Regions from separate parts of the Homo sapiens genome. Here region 1 is linked to region 2. Evidence: promoter capture Hi-C in 16 types of primary human blood cells and fetal thymus (Javierre and others, 2016). All regions are on one chromosome and are shown on one strand. The core of a region is centred on a gene start or on the middle of the fragment in contact, and the rest is flanking DNA. Distances in the headings are between cores, read along the strand shown. Region 1 overlaps CA5BP1-CA5B (CA5BP1-CA5B readthrough). Region 2 holds the start of ASB11 (ankyrin repeat and SOCS box containing 11).

The links. The method cuts DNA at HindIII sites, captures the fragments that hold promoters and counts their contacts. A CHiCAGO score of 5 or more calls a contact.
Region 1: a fragment that was not itself captured here is called in contact with the fragment with the promoter of ASB11 in region 2 in 1 of 17 cell types (M0 macrophages); the score reaches 6.0 in M0 macrophages.

Annotation. Positions count from the first base shown.
Region 1 is chrX:15,675,986-15,678,921 of GRCh38, reverse strand. All of the region lies in intron 1 of CA5BP1-CA5B (CA5BP1-CA5B readthrough), which reads right to left. It also overlaps the pseudogene CA5BP1. Among named protein-coding and RNA genes, the nearest start is that of CA5BP1-CA5B, 2.0 kb to the right of the region's middle. The HindIII fragment of the contact is 629 bases long and covers 1,193-1,821 here.
Region 2 is chrX:15,314,305-15,317,497 of GRCh38, reverse strand. ASB11 (ankyrin repeat and SOCS box containing 11) reads left to right here and starts at 1,858. Exons shown (of 7, transcript NM_080873.3): 1 at 1,858-2,073. The coding sequence starts at 1,893. The HindIII fragment of the contact is 9,481 bases long and covers 1-1,969 here.

The DNA of each region.
Region 1 (2,936 bases), core at 258-2,757, 360 kb before region 2:
GAAATTCTACCTCCAGACTGCCTTTGGACTGGAGCTGTGCCATGGCACCAGTTTGTGCTCACAATCCAGTCTGAATGTGTCCCCAAAGTTCACGTTTTGGAAACTTAATCTGCAACGCAAAAGTGTTGGGAGGTGATTAAATCATGAGGGCCCTCCCCTCATGAATGGATTAATGCCATTATTAGGGGGAGCTGGTTAGTTTCTGAGGTAGTGGGTTCCTGATATAAGGATAAATTTGGCTTCTTTCCCTTCCCTCCCTCCCTCCTTCTTCACCCCCAACCACTCCCACCCCTCACATGCACATGTTCTTGCCCTTCTGCCTTGTGCTATGGGATGATGCAAGAGAGAGCCCTCACTAGATGCTGAGCAGATGCTGGCACCATGCCCTTGGACTTCCCAGCCTCCAGAATCATGAGCCACATAAATTTCTGTTCATTATAAATTATCCAGTGTCAGGTATTCTGTTACAGCACAAAACTGAGTAAGACAGGCTGTAATATCAATTCTTCCCTGGTCTCCAGTCTGCTGGCCTGCACTGCAAATTTCACGAGCCTACATTCACGAGCCAATTTTTAAAAATAAATCTCTCTCTAAACACACACACACACACACACGCACAAGCACACACACAGGCACACCCACACATACATACATACACACACACATATATACACATACACACACACAATTGGTTTTGTTTCTCTGGAGAACACCTAATAAACCTTGCTTCTGGTAATTCCTTGGCTTGTGTCAGCATTAAATCCAATTTTCGTAAGCCATTCTCATCTTGTCTGTGTCCAAATTTCCCTTTTAATTAAGGACACCAGTTATATTGGACTAGTGGTCACCCTAATGACCATAATTACCTTTATACAGACCCAATCTCCATATGAGGTCACATTCTGAGGTACTGGGGCTTAAGACTTAAACGTATATGAGTTTGAGATGGGAGGGTGCAATTGAACTCGTAACAGCCAGTGACACCTAAAGTATGTCTGCGTTGCCTAAAAGGTGCTGACAATTCTCAAACCAAAGTTAAAATCACTTTTGTTTAGTTTTATCTGTGTTTGTGTAAATACAGTTTTTAGTGGGAGTGTGTATGTCAAAATGTCTAAGGAGATGAAAAATCACCTTGTTGAAGCCATGTAAAAAAGTCTGGCTCAGGATTTAAAAGACAGACTGCCAATAAGCTTTCAATATCTTATCTTGATAGTTCCTGCAGCCAGGTAAGAGCATCTGGTTTTTAAATAACTTCACTATCTGAATTCACTTAGCAGGTTTAAACAGCAATAGTCCATGGGTCAACTGAATTTAGAATCTGTTTTCCCCTTATTAGGGCAAACTTCAAACTTGTACAAAAAAATGGTGAGAATAAATCATCTATATATCCAATACTCCATTTCAACAATTACCAGTGTGTGGCTGGATACCGCCTAGGAGAGCTAAGCCTTCTGTGCTACACATCCTTTGCTGTCACTGATTATTCATGTATGCCTTGGATATTACTAACATGTTCTTTTTCTGTTGTTTTGCAGCCTTAGAAATGTGTGAAAAAAGAAAAGATTCTAAAAGTCTTTAAATGTCATTCATAAGTAATGTATTTATTAAATGCCTCATAGCTTGAACTCTGCCTGATTAAGCAACTTATGCGAAAGAGACAGGAAAAGTACTAACAAAAGGTTACAATTATATTGAAAAATTCCTTGATTGGCATCAGATTGACTCTTCATTTTCTCAACTCCTGATTTCAAAAGGAAGCCTGCCTTTTGCAATTTCCTGAAACTTAAATTAGAGATTACGCTGCTATGTCTTAAGAAAGCTTAGCTTCCTCCTCTCACTCACTTCTTCCTTGAGAGTGTGATCCCAATCTGAGGTTGCCAAAGGTTTCAAAATATATTATACCTGATTTGTGTGTTGCAACTAACTGCCCCAGTGTGGCCAGTGACATGATGAATTTCCCTCTTTCCATCAGATTTCCTTAATATTCATATGCAATCACAAGGCACTCAACCTTTATTCCATTGCAACTGTGAGCAGTGGCAGCCTTTTTGCTTGGTTCCAAGCACAGGGCAGCTACGTATAGGCACAGAGAATGGTGCCCTTGCTGTTTCGCCTTTCGGTTAATTCCAGCCCAGGTACTGATTTAAAATAGCCCAGAAAGTTTTTCATTTCCAAAATATTCAAGAACAGTGCAGCTTTTCACTAAGTCCCTGAAGACAGGGGAGGTGGGGTGAACTTTGGTTCATTGTGAACTCTGATGCAGGCTATGAATAGTGACTCCTCTGAGAGATGCGCGGGGCAGCATCTTACCAGAGATTTCTGACTATTCTCCATACTCCAGCAAGACTTTCAAAGTGCATAGTGGAAATGGTCAGATTATCAGTAAAGAAGAAGGGGAAGCAGAAAGCAATGTGGTATTCAGTGGCTAATAAGGAGCATATAAACAAATTAAGGTTTACGCATCTTCGTTAAGTCATTTCCCAAGCTTTTCCAGCAAAAGTAAATGTGAGAGAAGTACACAGATATTAATACTAACGCGTTTCCAGCAGCCTCAGAGCAGCAGCATTTAACGCTGAATATCACACAGAATCCCAGCCACCAAGAATGTCTGCATTTTGGAGGTTCCTCTCCTCCGGCTCTGGGGCAAGGCACAACAGAAAAACTCAGATTTGTCCAAGGGACACAACTGTGCTTTTGATCTACTCTGGGGTGGCTGTGTCTGTCCATAGCCCCTAGCATAGTCAGGTGGGAATATCAACAATGCAGACCCGAGGGAGTCCCAGCTTGCTGCTCCTTGGTTTCTGGACACTCCTCTCATCCCGCAATGTCTCTGGGAAAGCTGTTCTACTTTTTAATAGACAGAATCCTAAAAGGATGTCTGGTGATCCCCATAGCGGAGAAAGAGGGCTAGAGTGGGGAAGTGGCTATTTCCCCGC
Region 2 (3,193 bases), core at 609-3,108:
TATTTTCATACACTGGCATTCTACCAGGTAATATAAGCTCAGTAAAGTAAATCTTATGTTAATGTCTGTTCCTTGAGAGTTAAGACGACTCAAGGTCTTTATAGTGCTCTGATACACTGAAATCGATGAGCTGTATGTTGTGACTCAAGATTGTATTCTTACATGTCAGCTTTTTAATGTAGTGAAACAGTTCTTAACCAGGCAGTCATTCTAATTTGCCTGCATGCTAGGAGAAATTCCCATATTTTTGCATAAATCATTTGTTAAGATTTATTAGGCCACTTGTATAACTATATTTTGGCTTGTCTTTTCAATTGATTTTTAAAATTTACAAAATCGAACATAGCCAAGAATGAAGGCAGAGACCTAGAGTGATGAGGAAAACTAAAAATAAACCCATTTCACTTGTGTTGGCCAGCTGATAAGAGAAAATTGCCCAACTAGAGAAGGTTGATTCATGAAATATTTGGGTACTTCATCCAGAACCTAGGGCATCTCTTTTGTCCATTTCACTATGACTCTTCCATGATCAAGGATAGCCCACATTTTTCAGAAATGGGCACCACCTTTACCAATGCTTGAAATGCAAGTGAATGATCAGGAGGGAACCTTGCCATGGGACCTTGTCCCAGATGGAACTACCATGGCGAGTAGTCTGATGCTTCTAGTGTGACACTTACTTGGAGAGGCATCCAAGATAGGCCTTTTATTAAATACAGGCTTGGCCGGGTGCAGTGGCTCACACCTGTAATCCTAGCACTTTGGGAGGCCAAAGTGGGTGGATCACCTGAGGTCAGGGGTTCGAGACCAGCCTGGCCAACATGGCGAAACCTCGTCTCTACTAAAAATACGAAAATTATCCAGGCGTGGTGACGCATGCCTGTAATCCCAGCTTCTTGGGAGGCTGAGGCAGGAGAATCGCTTGAACCCAGGAGGCAGAGGTTGCAGTGAGCCGCGATCGCACCATTGCACTCCAGCCTGGGCAACAGAGTAAGACTCCATCTTAAAACTAAATACATACATACGTGCATACATGCATACATACATACATACAGCTTTAGGGTAAATTGTCTTTTTTTTTTTTTTTTTTGAGACAGAATCTTGCTCTTGTCACCCAGGCTGGAGTGCAGTGGCGCGATCTCGGCTCACTGCAACCTCCGCCTCCCAGGTTCAAGCAATTCTCCTGCCTCAGCCTCCTGAGTAGCTGGGATTACAGGCACCTGCCACCACGCCCAGCTAATTTTTGTACTTTTAGTAGAGACGGGGGTTTCGCCATGTTGGCCAGGCTGGTCGCAAACTCCTGACCTCAGGTGATCCGCCTGCTTCAGCCTCCCAAAGTGCTGGGATTACAGGAGTCAACCACCGCGCCCGGCCAGGTAAATGGTCTTTTTTAACTGGTCATATTTTAGATTTGGATTTAATCCTCTATAAACTTCAGAATTAAGAGAAAATGAAATGCTCCAGGGAGTAGTATTTCCCACTTAGAACATACAGCATATTTGCACTTCTTTTGTATGTCAAATAACTTGCTTTGTTTCTGTGGAAGCCAAGAAGTTTCTATCTTTCCAACCCTGCTTTCTAACATAAAATAGGAAAAATAGGGGTTTAGGAATATAAAATGTTTGGATATGAATCTTATCTGTTAGATAGTACTGAGTTATGTAGTTCTAGAACTATTGGATGTTTCTGGTTAGAAGGAAGTTTCTTTAGTTTATTTAACACTGCTGTGGAGTCAGCACATGCAGTCGCCAAATCAGTTAGATTAGAACCTACAGAGATCTCGGTAACAGGAGCACTGAGTGCTAGAAGGTTTAAAATAGATGTCATATGATACCAATTATAACTCAGTGAAATTTTACAGTCCTAGGACCCTATACAGAGCATAAGCCAAAATGGAAGATGGTCCTGTTTTCTATGGCTTTAAAAACATTTTTATTACAATGTTTGCTACGTTTTTTTTCTTTAAGCTTTTAATTAAAGTTTTTTTGGCTCTCCTAACCCATTTCTATATCGTCAAAGGAAATAGAAAAGAAGCGGCTAGGATAGCAGAAGAGATCTATGGTGGAATTTCAGGTAAAAGTACATGAATTTGTTCCTAATATTTAAAGAAAATCCCTCCTAGATAATTCATATGACTAGTATTTCTGGAAGGCAGATTATATTTATACTTTGATTTTAAGTGGGTAGTTTGAAAAATTGTCACTTAAAGTAGCAAATGCTGTTGGCTGCATCAATTTGTGGAGGATTTTCAGCTTTATTTTTTGCAAGTTCGTAGATCTTGTAGCAGTTGTTATTTAAGAAGTAAATAGGTAGTGGCTTACTAAGAGTATTTTGAGAAACTTCATTTCTACTAGCCAAAGTAATTACTTGTATATAATTATTTTCTTTAATATTTTAAAGCAAACTTTAACAATGAAGGGCATTCTAACCAGACTAAATTCTCTCAGGAAATAGAATGACTAATAAATTATAATTAAAGCAGCAAACGTGGCAAGCTATGTGTATTTTTTTTGCTGTCATTTGCAACTGGAATTGATTAACCACTTGTCACTGTCAGGAAAAGCTCTTCACTAAACCCATTTTATATGGTAGCATGCAAAGCACTCCAAACAAAGTTTATTCTAACATGAAATGCCAAGATTTGGGCAAAACATTTTAAATTCTCATGCTTTGTAGAGAATAGTGTCCATTTCTTTCAAGAAATGATTTACTTTAATTGTGGTGAGATGCTACAAAAGTAAATGAGTCAGATATCCCTGTCACTCCTGGGATTGTCACTTAATAGAGGAGTATTTATTCATAAACAGAGTTCAGAATTTCCCCGTGTATTTTTAGTGTTTGCAGGGGTTCCAGGATTACATCATTCTTTATCTAGTATCCATTTCAATTTGCATCCAGGATTCTCTTTCAAAATAGTCTTATGTGATTCCAATACACTAGACAACTCAGAAGACACTAGACAACAGCAGTCTTATCTAAAGAAATAAGACCTCCAAGGACGAAGCATCAGAATGCTTCAATTAACTGGGGAAAATGAGAAGAATTGTGAAGTTTCAGAACGTATCAGAAGGTCCGGACCATGGAAAGAGATTTCTTTTGGGGATTATATTTGTCACACATTTCAGGGAGGTATGTTACTTTGACTAGTTACAAAAAAAAAAAAAAAAAGTAATGCTTCTGATAAGTTTCAAGT